Regions from separate parts of the Homo sapiens genome. Here region 1 is linked to region 2. The links are contacts of gene promoters, found by promoter capture Hi-C in blood cells and fetal thymus (Javierre and others, 2016). All regions are on one chromosome and are shown on one strand. Each heading gives the region's core, a stretch centred on a gene start or on the middle of the fragment in contact. The rest is flanking DNA. Distances are from core to core; before and after follow the strand shown. Region 1 overlaps KRT2 (keratin 2). Region 2 holds the start of KRT4 (keratin 4).

Region 1 (7,011 bases), core at 4,432-6,931, 170 kb before region 2:
AAAACTCACAGGCAGAGAAAGGGAGGGAACCACAAGAGGGAGGATGTCCCAAATATTCTGCAACATCATCAGAACGGAAATGTTTAACCCAGTTCCCTATGGAAATCGAGCTCGTAAAACCCTTCTGCCTGTGCCTGTCTCCTTTTTGAAGCCCAGGACCTGACAAGTCAATTACCAAATTTGGTGGAGGAGCAGCAGAGGGCCCTGGTGGGAGGGTGTGGCCCAGATTCTGGGCTACTCTACACTTCGGAGGGAAAGGAGGGTCCCTCTCCAGAGGTAGCCCCTCTCTCCAATACCTGCTTAGAGCTTGATTTCTGTCACGCCTCAGGCCTGGGTCCCTCTGAGTTAATGTACAAGGCTAATTTTACTACTGGAGTCCAGCAAGAAAGTAGCATATATATGATCTGGAAACCAGAAGGGCTGTGTCTCAGGTGGGGAAGGGATGGGGAACTGGAAACGATAGAAGGAGCTAGAGGTTCAGACCACTGAAAGTCTCAAGAATTAAGGCCGGGTGCAGTGGCTCACGCCTGTGATCCCAGCACTTTGGAAGGCTGAGGCAGGCAGATCACTTGAGGTCAGGAATTCGAGACCAGCCTGGGCAACATGGTAAAACGCCGTCTCTACCAAAAATACAAAAATTAGATAGGCATGGTGGTGCATGTCTGTAATCCCAGCTACTCGGGAGGCTGAGGCATGAGAATCACTTGAGCCGGGAGGCGGAGTTTGCAGTGAGCTGAGATCATGCCACTGCACTCCAGCCTGGGCAACAGAGTGAGACTCCATCTCAAAAAAAAAAAAAATAGAATTAAGGCTCCCCTGGGAATAAATCTGCCACCTTACCTGCCTCACCTCTTTTCCCCTCAGAAAGTTATTAGAATGGATTGCTATTCCCAAAGCCTTTTAAAAAATGAATAAATTGGGAGTGGGAGACCTGGTTTCTGTGTCCACCCTGGGCCTTACCTTTTTCCTCACCTAAGTGAAAAGTTCAAATACACTGATTACCAAAGCTCCTGTCCAGCCTCAAATGTCTGGGACCAAGTCCCTGTTAAAGGTTGTGTTCATGTCTACACTATGTACATACCCGAAAACAGCCAGCTCCTCACACCACTTCTTCCCAACCTGCACCCTCTCCCCACAGACCTCTCCCCACGACTGAGGCCTGGGTGGTTCTCAGGGACCTTCTCTGATCAGCGGATCACTTTAGAATGCTCAGCCTGGAGTCTTGCCACCTTGCCACCTGCAGCCTTCAGAGCTGTTCCTGCAGCACCCTCATACCTGGGTCCTGGCTGGTCTGGAGGCAAGTGAATGCATCTGTTCTCTATTAGAGCCGTCCCTGCAACCTCTGGGAACAGGAAGACGGTCACAGACTCAACTAAGGACTCTCCAAGGTTTTAAAGCTGGGGTGGAGTGGGAGAAAAAAGGACCCTCCAGGAGTGGTTCTGAGTGGCTTTAAGCCACAGCTACTATAACCAAACGCCACATACAGAAAGCTAAGCTGACCTAGCCTGAGCCACCAACTCCCATTTGGGCAACTCTGGCCTGTCTAACACCAACCCCAAGCATGCCCAATCCCACCTGCCCAACCATTCCTGAACTCCCTGGAAGCCCTGCTCAGGTGACATGGCCTTCCTGAGGAAGGGGCTGAAGGCATCTTCACACCCACAGGAGAAGGCCAACCTGATGGCAACATCCATGCGACAGGCCCCGGGGGCTGCGGTGAGAGAGGAGAGAAGGGCTTGTTTGCTGAGTGTGGTGGGACTCCGCTGACAGGAGGGGTGTCCTGTGAAAATAGAAGTGGCTGTTTTGGAGGCCACTTTAGAGTCCTCCAGACTCTTCCCAGGTATCCTCCTCCAGGCTTGCTCAGAGCCCCCGCAGAGACAGAGGCCAGGACCTACATCAGGCTGAGGAAGGTCTGCCTTGGAAGCTCGGAGCTTGGAAACTCACCACGATGGTGCCAGGGGCTCAGCGGTTTTGCCCTGAGGAGAAGTGATCCCGGGCCAAAGCCTTTGTGGAAAAGGGAGAGGGCAGTCTGTGGGAAATGCTCAGGAAGAATGGGTTTTTCTAGAAAAGAGACTCTTCCACAAATCTACCTGTCCACCTCCCGGCAATGCCATGGCCCTCAAGTCTGGTAAATACTTTCTGAGAACCACACACCCATCCCCAGGCTCCCATTCATCCAGAGGCTGGCGCCTGGGCTTCCCTCAGGGAGGCACGCTCCTCACCCAGGAGCCCCTCCTTAATGCCCAAACCTCCCTTGTCCATGGCTGCCCACTTCCACCAAGGTTTGACATCACGCAGACAGCACATGATATGAATTGCAAATGAGGTTTATTATGAAGACCCCCAGACCACAGCACTTCCGAAAGCAGAGTGGACAAGAGGAGCTATATACACAGAAACACATTTCCCCCCAGCACTGCCAGGCTTAGAGATGAAATCCCTGGATGGGCCTGGGTCCTCAACAGAATACACATCTGGAAAATGGGCAATGCAAAGAGGCATGGTGGGGGCGGGAATGGGCATGGCTAGAAGCACAAACCTAGACAGCACAGATTCCGCCCCAGAACACAGAGGCGTCACTGGCTCTAACTAACTGGTTTGGAGAGAAGATCTTTCAAAAACTGTATGTGGACATTCTTTTCCCTCAAAGTGCCATCAGAGATAAATGACAAAAATTTAACTTGCTGCCAGTTAGAGGTACAGAGACAGGCTTCTACATTCTGGAGTGGGAGAGTCTGGGTTGGGAGAGTCGGTGGTGGTGGGGGCTCATCTTTATCTAAAAGAGAAGGTCACGCTGGAACCAAAAGCTTCACCTGAGCTACCCTTTACAGAGCTAGAACCCCCACCTCCAGAGCCATATCCTCCTCCAGAGCTGGAGCCTCCTCTAGAGCCACCTCCAGAGCTGTGTTTTCCACCTCCAGAGCCATATCCTCCTCCAGAGATGGACCCTCCCTTAGAGCCACCACCAGATCCGTATCTTCCTCCAGAACCACCGCCAGAGCCATATCCTCCTCCAGAGATAGAACCTCCTCCTCCACTACCGCCTCTGGAGCCAGACTGTCGGCCTCCAGAGCCATAACTGCTGCTTCCAGAGCTGTATCCTCCTCCGGAACTGGACCCTCTACCTCCAGAACCTCCAAAGGCAGCCTTGGATGCCACATTTGATGAAATGGTGCTGCTTGTCACAGCTGCAGAGAGAGGTGGTGTTACCACAGAGATTATGACTGCCTCTCCCTGCCTCCACCTGACACAACACCCCATGGAACAGGACCACACCCCATTACTTACACACAGTCACATTGCTGCTGAGGTCTCCAGACATCCTGTAAGGGAGAGAGAAAAAACAAGTTGTGGTGGAACACTTAGGTTCTGTATGCATGTTGTTTTACCACTTCCACCCGCAAATGTGCAGTTTAGCCTCTCTAAGCAGCCACCAGGGCTTACACACCCCACTTTCTTCTATGCTGCCAGGTCACACAATGACGACAGACCCCCTTCCATTTATGCACAACCTTGCATGTCAATCCCTCTCAATTTTTGCTCTGATAAAAAATGAACAGTTGCGTGGTTGATCCAAGGTCACTGAAAAGCAAATTCACTTCCTACTTTGCAACCCATTTGTGTATTTAAATCCATCTTGGAGAGTCTGTTATTCAGAATCCATGCCACATCAGAAATTATACAATGAGGCTGCCTGTGAACATTCAGTTCAGAAAGAACTGTGACTCTGTAGAGCCTCCCCATTCCTCTCTTCTTCCCACCCTCTTCAGCTTCAACTGAAAACTTTCCCACTTCCTCTTACAAGCTGGGCATAGGAGGCATTGCCTCTAGACAGGGACAGAGCAACCTCCTGAAGAAAGCCACTCCCTGTTTGTCATGCTGGCTTGCTGATGGCCTGGGGTAGCTTTTCCCCTTCCAATTGCTTCAGCCAGATTAAGTCACCCAAGATGCTGATAATACGGACAAAGGTCTCAGACTACAGAGGAAGCAAAGGGTGCCTCTTTGAAAGTTAGCAAATGGTTCCATTTGTCACTCCAGAAACCTGCAAAGAACTGGGGCTGGCACCTGCTCCGGTCAGCACGTCCCCACCAGTCAGCACATTCCGAGACATCATCTCCCCCATTCTGGGTCACCCGGTGGAGGGCACAGAAGCCACTCACCCTATGGACCTAGAGACCAAAGTTTCAGACTGTCTAGGACTAACCTGTTTTCCCATGATTTTGTTTTCTCTTTCAGAAAAGACCAGGATGTTTAACTTACTGCTTAGTTTAATTTAATGTGCCTTATGCATCATTTCATGTTGATAAATGTGTAACTCTCCAATCATGCTTTATGTCCTGAGTTTCTGCTTGGGGAACACAGAGAATGTCAGTTCTCAGTTGTCAGGAGGGCCTGCCCCATTCTCTGCTTTCCCTGTCTTTGCCTCCAGCCCTGGCTCTGGGAGAGATGAGAGGAAGGGCCAGGGTCCCCTTCTCCCTTCCCAGTGCCCTCACCTGCACTCCTCGCCCTCCAGCAGTTTGCGGTAGGTGGCGATCTCCACATCTAGGGCCAGCTTCACGTTCATCAGCTCCTGGTAGTCACGCAGCAGCCGCGCCAAGTCCTCCTTGGCCTGCTGCAGGGCCTCCTCCAGGTCATTCAACTTGTTCCTGGCATCCTTGAGGGCATGCTCCCCACGCTGCTCGGCATCTGCGATGGCATCTTGCACATTCTTACACTATGACAGAAGGACAGAGAATGGATTCTGCCTGACGGAGGCGGACAGAGAGCAGAGGTGTTCGAAGTGCAGGAAGCCAGAACCACTGGCCCTGGGAGTGTTAGGTCCCCTCTGGAGTTTAGTCGCAAACAACTGTGCTAAGACTTGCCGCTGTCTCTGGCACATCTTCTTCCCATGTCACCGTTGATGACACCCTTTGGCTTTCCCCATAGTGCCCTTTGATCCTCACATCACAGGGCCTGAATCATGATCCCATTTTACAGATGGAAATGAAAACATTTGAAATGGTCTGCTTGGCAAAGCTTCTGCTGCTGATGGAATCCACTCTCTGCCTCTACCTTTTCTATTCCAAAGCTAACGTCCAGCCCCAGGCCAGCTGCCCTCAATACTCACTGCCCCTCTATGAAACCAGTCGGCTGGTGCTCAGGGCCTGTGCTGAGCACAAACGGGAAGCTCCATCGGCAATCTGCAGCAAATCAATCAAACTAACGTTTGCTCTATTTGTTATGACTCCCTTTTCCTCATATAAACAAGTGAGCACAATTCTTTCCCTTCGATAATCCTTACTTTGGAATGTCTATTAGAGCACTCTAAGAATTGTTATAATAAGCCATAAATTATGTTAAGCTGGGGAATTTGGGATCGATACATGCTAGAGTGCAATATCTCAGTGTCTCTCATCTCTCACATGCACACTCACACACAACCACACTCTCACGCACACCCAGAGACAACCTCCCGCCCCTCGCTGGACAGGGCTGGGCCTCACCTGCTTCTTCACATGTGCGATCTCCCCCTGCAGCCTCTGGATCACGCGGTTCAGCTCGCTGATCTCTATCTTGATCTCTTTCAGGCTGTCTCCATGTCTCCCGACAGTCACCTGGAGCTCCTCATACTGATATGGGGAGAAGAGGACAGTTTGCAAGGAAGTTCCAGCCTGGCTCACATTCCAGACTGACTGGAGTGAAGGAGAGCTGGTTACTGGTCCAGGGAGGGTCAACCCAGCTAAATGTCATGGCTGCATTCATGAGAGGTAGGGACTGTCTCACATGCCCAAAAGGACTTGGTGCCATTCTCAACATCCTTTCTTGGGAATGGTGCCCAACTACCATTAAACAAAAAACCAATAACCTTACTGTACACTTTCCAGCTGGGGGTGCAACCCAGCTCATGGCAGGGAGCTGTGGCTCTTCCTACATTCCCTCTACTTGCCTTGCTGTGGTACAGGGCCTCCGCTTCTTCCTTGCTCCTCTGGGCGATCTCCTCATACTGGGCCTTGACCTCGGCGATGATGCTATCCAAGTCCAGGTTGCGGCTGTTGTCCATGGAGAGGATGACGTTGGTGTCAGTGACACTCTGATGTATCTGGGATATCTCCTACAACACACAGGAAGGTCTGGTCATGACATCCTGCCATAGCTACAGGCAGACAGGAGGCCTCTGTCTCCCAGCATAAGGGAAACGCAGACCCTCAGACTAAGCATACACTAGGTGGGATGAAAATCATGTAACCGTCTACTCCTGGGCCTCTCCCAAGGTTGTCCTGAGAATTGTAGTGAGAGGCACCTGTATTTCTGAGCCTCCTAGTTAACATTCAGCACTTAAGCCAGTTATGGTAAGTGCCCCCAGACAGAAGCTTGTCCATGGCAAATACCTTAAATGGACTTCCTGTTTCAGAAATCATCTGTGCACCCTTGGGTTGGGGAGGGGGATAGGAGACAAATGCATTTTGACCTCTGAAGTACAGTAGGCACAGGAATGGGCACAGGGCTTGTCTCTTCCCCAGGGGAAATGGACATCTGGGGAATGGAGGGAGGGGAAGCTGTCCTGGTGTTTCCTGAACCTTATTCCCATAACATCGGAGGAGAAAATTCCTCACCCACAAGACCTATGCTATGAAAGCCCCCCCAGTGGCCTGGAATGATGGCAGATTGAAGTCAGCTGGTCCATAAACCCCACTTCTGCCACTTTTTCACCAAGCAGAAAGGACTTTCATTTGGTGAGAAGGGTGGGAAGTAAGGGACTGTCCCGGAGCAGCCTCCTTACCGCATCATAGAGAACTTTCAGAAACTCAATTTCCTGGTTCAGCAGGTCCACCTTGGACTGCAACTCCACCTTTATCATGTAGGCATTGTCCACGTCCTGCAAGAAAGGTTGAGGCCTCTGGTGTATGGTTCCCTGTACAGGCCTCTTCCTCTCTCTGCCACTCCCCTCTACTCAGTCCCTGCTGGCTCCTCTCTAAAATCCCAGGCTCCCCAACCTGATCCCTGTCCCCATGGGACTTCTTTTGTCGTGCA
Region 2 (6,738 bases), core at 838-3,337:
AGGGCCAGCCAAGGCAACACCAACCCAGTCAATCCCAGGGAACTACACGGCCCAAGAACCACCCAAGTAGGGCCACTATGTTGCATCTCCAGGGCACCATTCACTCGGGTTGACATGATGGCCCCATTCTCGAGCCCATAGCACCAAGGGGTCACATAGGTTGTGGAGAATAGAGCACAGCCAGAGAAGCAGGGCCTAACAGTGCAACAAGAACAACTTCCTAGCCGCAGGCACCCAAAGCCCCAAAGAACATTAAACTTCTATGAAATAACAAAATAAAATTAAGAGACATCACAATCTGGAGGCTCTTGCATTCAAAGTGATCCTGACCCAAGGCAAATGAAAGACAAAGTCACTACAGACTTTTTAAATAAGCTTACTTATCAATGGATCTGGCGTGTCCCTGTGAACCTGTGAACAACTGAGTATAGATATTTAAAACAAGGGCCCTGTACGCATTGTCTCACCTAAACTCCATTCTGCAAAGGACTTTCCTGAACTTTCCCTCTCTCTATGAAAAAATCTAGCCAGACAAACCAGGACAGCAGCTTAGCATGACATTTCCATGTTATGAGCCTCAGAATTGAAAGGAAAGCAGGTAAGGCAGACCGATCACATTTTGAACCCAAAAGGTAAAATGAGATGAGATGAGACAAGGATGCATCAAAGAGCCCTGAGTTTTTGCTATCACATCTGCATGTCCTATAGTCACAGTAAAACCTCTTTAAGTTACTATGGGTTTATTCAAACTAGCAAGAAGAACAAATATGCACCTTATTCTATTCCAAAAGTGTTCATTCTTGCCCCATATGTCGAAGCTGCCCAAGACTTTGATGCCTGGTGAACCAGGGCAACCTGGACCAAAGGGAGGCACTCATCCACCCAGTCATCAATCTTTGGATGACTCGGCTCTCTGGGGCTGCACTGCTCACTATCATCCATCATGCATGACCATAACTGAGCTTAAAGAACTTGAACTTCTAGACGTTGCATGAAAAAGGAAGTTGGGCTACAAAAAGAAAAGAGACCTGTCTCCTTTCTTCAAACAGACCCAGACATGAGCAGTGTTGTCCAGTCAAAGGAATGAAAAAAGTAAATTTCCAAGGCCTTGGTGAGACCTAGAATCTGCCACTGGAGCCAGTCCCTTTTTCATTTGCAAAATCAGCTTAGTTGTCTTCTGTTCTAAGAACAGAAGTGGCCACTGTTAAGTGATTAATGGGGTTAACTGCATTATATTCAAAACCAAAATCTGAGAAAAAGCAGAGAAATAATGAACCCCCTTTATAGCTGGGATGACTAGAGCCAGAAAAGCCAAATGATTTGTCCAGTATCCCACAGCCTGTCTAGGGAATTCCAAACACTTAACTGCCTTGAGCATCCCACCTTCCCACCAGCCACGGGACAAAAAGGAAGGCTCAAAGTCATGATGCCCCTTCAACAGCTGGAGAATTGGGGCCCAGGGAAGTTCAGTGGTCTCCCCAGCACCTGTGGCAGGCTCAGGTCTGAGACCCCAGGACTCAGGACCCCTCTCTTCTAACTGCCCCTCTCCAGCCGAGGACACAGCTCACCTTGTCGATGAAGGAGGCAAACTTGTTGTTGAGGAGCTTGATCTGTTCGCGCTCTTCCGTCCGGACTTTCTGGATCTCAGGGTCAATCTCCACGTGGAGGGGGGTGAGCAAGCTCTGGTTGATGGTGACCTCCTGAATTCCCCCAGCGGGGCAGACGGGGAAGCCAGGGCCACCCTTACCACTGAAGGAGCCCCCAAATCCACCACCAAAGCCACCAGTGCCAAAGCCTCCAGCACCCCCAAAGCAGGCACCTTGTCGTGACCCAGCCACACTCATGGAGATGCTTTTGTTCCCCCTGAGGTTGTAGAGGCTTCTGCTGCCAAATCCCCCAGAAGAGCATCGGCCAGCACCTCCAGACATGGAGACTGAGCTGAAGGCACCTCTCTTGCCACCGCCTACAATGGCCGAGCCACAGCTGAAGCCCCGGGGCCCGCCTCGGACACACTGCTGTCTGGCAATCATGGCTGCAGAGAGCGAGCTGGGAGCTATCAGAGAAGTGACAGGGCCCAGGCCGGTGAGTGCTGGAGCCCTCAGCCTTCGTCTCTTATATGTCCTGGAGCAGCAGGGCTTGGTTGCAGGGGCATAAAGGGAAAAATCTGAAACATCTCTGGGCTTGGCCCTTGGCACAAGCCCATCCTTCCCGCACCCGTTGAGCATGTCACTAAACACACCTACAGAAGTCATCTGGAGGGCACAGGTTACTGGATCCCATCACACTACTCTCTGGGAGAACCTGAACTGGTGCCCCAGGGCTTCCTAATCAGAAGCCCCTGCCTGGGCCCAGCGCTCCAGGCCCACACCCACTGTACCTCCATCTCGCTAGGCTCACAGCACCTCCCTCCTCCAGAAAAGACACCCCATCACCCATCCTCTCACCCCACAGAATGTGGAGTTAGACAGCCTGAGTTTGAGCGCACAGCCTGCCACCTCCTAGCTCTGCAAACCGGAGCAAGTCACCCTCTGAGGCCCAGTTGCTTTCCCTGTAAATTGGAAGTAATACAAATATTTGCCTTGCCACTTCTCAGGATAGAGTGAGCTAGTGATTAATGGAGTGCTCTGTAAACTGTCAAAAGCCACATGTATATTTGTCATTCTTAGCATTCTTATTCCTCCACATGTTCTTGGCTCCATGTACCTATAAAAAGGGGAAATATTCTGTATTCCAGCCTTAGCCTTCCAACCTAGATCCAGATTCACTTCAACTTGGCCAACAGCTACTGAGAAACTGCCAGGCATGGAGCTAGGTACTAAGGAGATGGGGGAAGACAAAACACCTCCCCAAAGAAAACCGTGACTGTCTTTCTCAGCCCTGGGTACCCATGCTGCCCCGCAGGCCTCCCTTCAATCTGTGCTTGCACAATTCTAGATGGGCGTTCTCCAGCGGGGTCTGGTGGTGTGCACTCTGCTGCTCCATTTGCTGTCCAGTTGTTTGCTAGGTGTGTTCTGGTTTTCTGTAATGGTGCAGAATTCAGGGCAGGAGTTCATAACTTTTTTGCTGCTGGGGATCCCTTTGGCAGAATGATGAAACCTATGGATCCCTTCTCAGAGCAATGTTTTTAAATGCAAAATCCTAGTTTTAAGCCATAACTTAAATTCTTCCCAACTGAACAGTAACAGATCTGTGTTCAAATCCCTCCTGTTGCCACTAACTAGCTGTATAACCTTGGGTGGGCCAACTAAGCACTCTAAACCCATCCAATATGGTTTGGCTCTGTGTCCCCACCCAAATCTCATCTTGAATTGTACTCCCATATTTCCCACACATTGTGGGAGGGCCCCGGTGGGAGATGATTGAATTATGGGGGCGGTTTCCCCCATACTGTTCTTGTGGTAGTGAATAAGTCTCACGAGATCTGATGTTTAATAAGGAAAAACCCATTTTGCTTGGCTTTCATTCTCTCTCTTGCCACCACCATGTAACAAGTGCCTTTTGCTTTCTGCCATGATTGCGAGGCCTCCCCAGCCACATGGAACTGTTAAGTCCAATAAATCTCTTTCTTTTGTAAATTGCTCAGACTCAGGTATGTCTTTATCAGCAGCGTAATAATGGCCTAATACACCATCCAATCCATCTTCTCATCTACCAAATGGGACACCTGCCTCACAAGGAATTAGACAATGTCCCCATGGTGCCTGGCATATAGGAGGTCAGCAGGCATTCATTCTCTTCTTTCCCAGGCTTTGCCATTGCCATTTACAGGGAGAAATCTGGTGTGTTTGTTCTCCCTCCTTTCCTCAATTCCTCATAGATGAAATGACCCCAGGTCTGAGGAAGAGCAGTCACCAGCACCTGGATAATCCCACAGACCCAAGCTGCCCCTAGCTGAATGAAAGCTGGCCAGGGAGAGAGTGAACGGCTGCCTCCATGCACAGAGAGAGGGCAGGGGCCAGTGCTGAGGACAGAGTGGTCAGGAGATCCCACCCCAGACGCAGGGCTGCAGGGAAGGCCAGGCTGGCTGGGAGTTCAGCCAGCTCCTTCTCCAGCCACTTCCTCCCTTGTCCCCATTCCCCCAACCCCTCCCTCCCCTACCTCGGGTCTGTCTCTGCCAAGATGGCCTCTAAGTAAGTGGAGAGGGGGTGGAGGGGCTGTGGCCATGAGGACTGGAGGCCCCAGGCCCCATCACAGGAGAATGCCCGCGTCATGGGTCAGTCCACCTGCAGTAGGTGAGCATTCTAGAGCCAGAACCATCTCCTAGAAGGAAGGGGTTGGACTTTCACTGATCCTTTCTGCCCAGATTCACCAAGCGCCGACTTCGTGCCAAGCTCTGTGCTGGATGCTTTACCTACATTTGATCAACTAGTCTACTTAGAGGCTCTATGGAGTCAGCACCATTAGCCTTCCTTACAGAAACTCAGAGAAGTAAAGTAGCTCCCAGGGTCACACAGCAGCACGTGGTGGAGCCAGGATTTAAACTTACATCAGTCTGGTCCCAAAAGTTCCATATTCTTTTTTTTTTTTTTTGGTTTTTGTTTTGGGTTTTGTTTTTGTTTTTTTGAGACGGAGTCTCACTCTGTCGCCCAGGCTGGAGAGCAGTGGCGCCATCTCGGCTCACTGCAAGCTCCGCCTCCTGGGTTCACGCCATTCTCCTGCCTCAGCCTCCCAAGTAGCTGGGACTACAGGCGCCCGCCACCGCGCCCAGCTAATTTTTTTTTTTTTTTTTTTTGTATTTTTAGTAGAGACGGGGTTTCACCGTGGTCTCCATCTCCTGACCTCGTGATCTGCCCGCCTCGGCCTCCCAAAGTGCAGGGATTACAGGCGTAAGCCACTGCACCTGGCCCAAAGGCTCCATATTCTATAGCCTCTCACTCACACTGTTCTGCCTGGTATAAAGCCACTCTGTCTAAATTGTGTCACAACCAATCCAGAATGTGCACCCAAATAAATCTGATGGAACTGACTGTTCGGGTCAAAGGGGCTCTGGGGGCACTAGCATCCCAGGGTCTATCGATTTCCACTGTTGCTCCTAAGGTGGGCATGGCTTGGAAGGAGGGTGGGAGCTACTGCAGGTCTTTGCGGGCTGCAGCTGCAGGAGCTGAGGAGACATGTGAGCCTCCCACTTGGGAAGCTGAGGTCCAATTGACTGGTTACCTGCCCCAGAGGACATGGCAGGGCCATCAGGATCTCACCCTGAGTGATGGCTGGAGCTCACCCCCCGGCTGCCTCACCTCAGCCTCTGCACCTGCCGTTCACTGCTTTCTTCTCTGGTAGCCCCTGGGATTTGATGGGGACTATCACAGGCCGGGGTAGGCTTTGCCTGAGCACAAGTGAATCCCTGAGATGGCTCATAGTGTGCTTATTGGGTCTTTTACTCTATGGCTGTAACACTCCAACACTAGGAGAAAATGGCATGGGTTCACTGCCCCTAGAGTTGTGTCTACTGCTTAGAACAAAAAGCAAGCCAGGAGCCAAGGGGATTTTCAGGGAAACAATATAGAATATGTAATCAGTCTTATTTTGTGCCTGTGGGGCACCCAAACCATGGAGCTACGATTGAGGTACTTCTCATGAAGGTGACTTGAGGTGTGCCATCGCTGATACAAGAAGGAAGATGAAGGAAAGGCAGCGGTGCCTCTTGGGTAGAAGGGATTCTCTCTTGGAACTACTGTTATATGCTGAACACTAGGTGCTTCTTCCAACAACCCAGTCAAAGAGGTGCTTTGCTATGTCCAGTTTGGAGCTGCAGATATTGAGGCTCAGAGGGGTATGTAACTTGCCTGAGATCACACAGCCAGGAAGTGGTAGAGATAGGAAGTCAGTACTATCTGTCTGACTTCAAAGCTTGTGACCTTACAATGTATAAAACGGTAGGTATAATGTTTTATATGAGTGACTGGCCCACACAGAATATGCAGGGAAAAAAATACACAGCAACTTATACAGCCCTGTACCTCATGGTCCACCAAGACAGCCATGGGGTCTGGCCAGCAGGCTGCAAGCTCTGCAGATGCAGCTCCGCTCCTTTTTGTCCTTACCCTCAGCACATGGTCAGTTGCTTGGTTGATGTGGCCCTGTCCTTACAAGTACCCAATAAGGTATGACACTGTCCTGAGGGGCCAGTTTTGTATCCTCCAATTAACTAAATCCAAATTAATTTCATGACAAACCCTACCATAAACCCAATCCAAACAAGAAGAAAGTTCTAGTCTAGAGCCACATTCTGTGTCCTTATTATTAAATCAGAATTGCAAGAAGCTCACAAAATCTTCAAACTGAGCCTGAGAAACCGAAGGTAGACCTAAGGAAGAACTTCCTATGCAAGAGCGCCTTTACACCCTAGAGTGAGAGAGAAAGAGAGATGAGTTTCTTTCCCTGAAAACGGGGAAAGACATTGCCTTCATATGTGGGCCAGAGGCAGGTGGCTGAACAAGGCGCCACTACCCAGCAGCCACAGCTGGAAGCTTGTCCCCTGCCCCTCCCCAGACCTCCACACGCAGATTCTGCTACTGCCCTCGGTGACCCTTCCTTGTTTGGCAGCTGTTCCCAATCTTTTCACAGAGGGATGAGCAGCCGACAGGGGTGTGGAGCCAGGCGGAGGGAGTGTTTGCTCAGGGCTTTCTGGGTAAGGGAGGCAAGCCCTTACATTCAGCCCTGGGATTAAGGGATCCTGAGGGCTTCTGTCACTCTCATCTCCAAACCCACTGTGTGGTGTGGGAAAGTGCTCCTGCCCTC

Evidence for each region. Contacts are between HindIII fragments. The CHiCAGO score rates a contact against its expected background, and 5 or more counts as called.
Region 1: a fragment that was not itself captured here is called in contact with the fragment with the promoter of KRT4 in region 2 in 1 of 17 cell types (M2 macrophages); the score reaches 5.1 in M2 macrophages.

What each region holds. Positions count from the first base shown.
Region 1 is chr12:52,642,247-52,649,257 of GRCh38, forward strand. It overlaps KRT2 (keratin 2), which reads right to left. Exons shown (of 9, transcript NM_000423.3): 4 at 6,761-6,856; 5 at 5,927-6,091; 6 at 5,484-5,609; 7 at 4,494-4,714; 8 at 3,289-3,323; 9 at 2,312-3,188. The coding sequence ends at 2,773. Among named protein-coding and RNA genes, the nearest start is that of KRT2, 6.5 kb to the right of the region's middle. The HindIII fragment of the contact is 1,334 bases long and covers 5,015-6,348 here.
Region 2 is chr12:52,812,029-52,818,766 of GRCh38, forward strand. KRT4 (keratin 4) reads right to left here and starts at 2,088. Exons shown (of 9, transcript NM_002272.4): 1 at 1,569-2,088. The coding sequence starts at 2,030. RefSeq lists a silencer at 793-993 and enhancers at 1,159-1,660, 6,191-6,692. The HindIII fragment of the contact is 5,472 bases long and covers 374-5,845 here.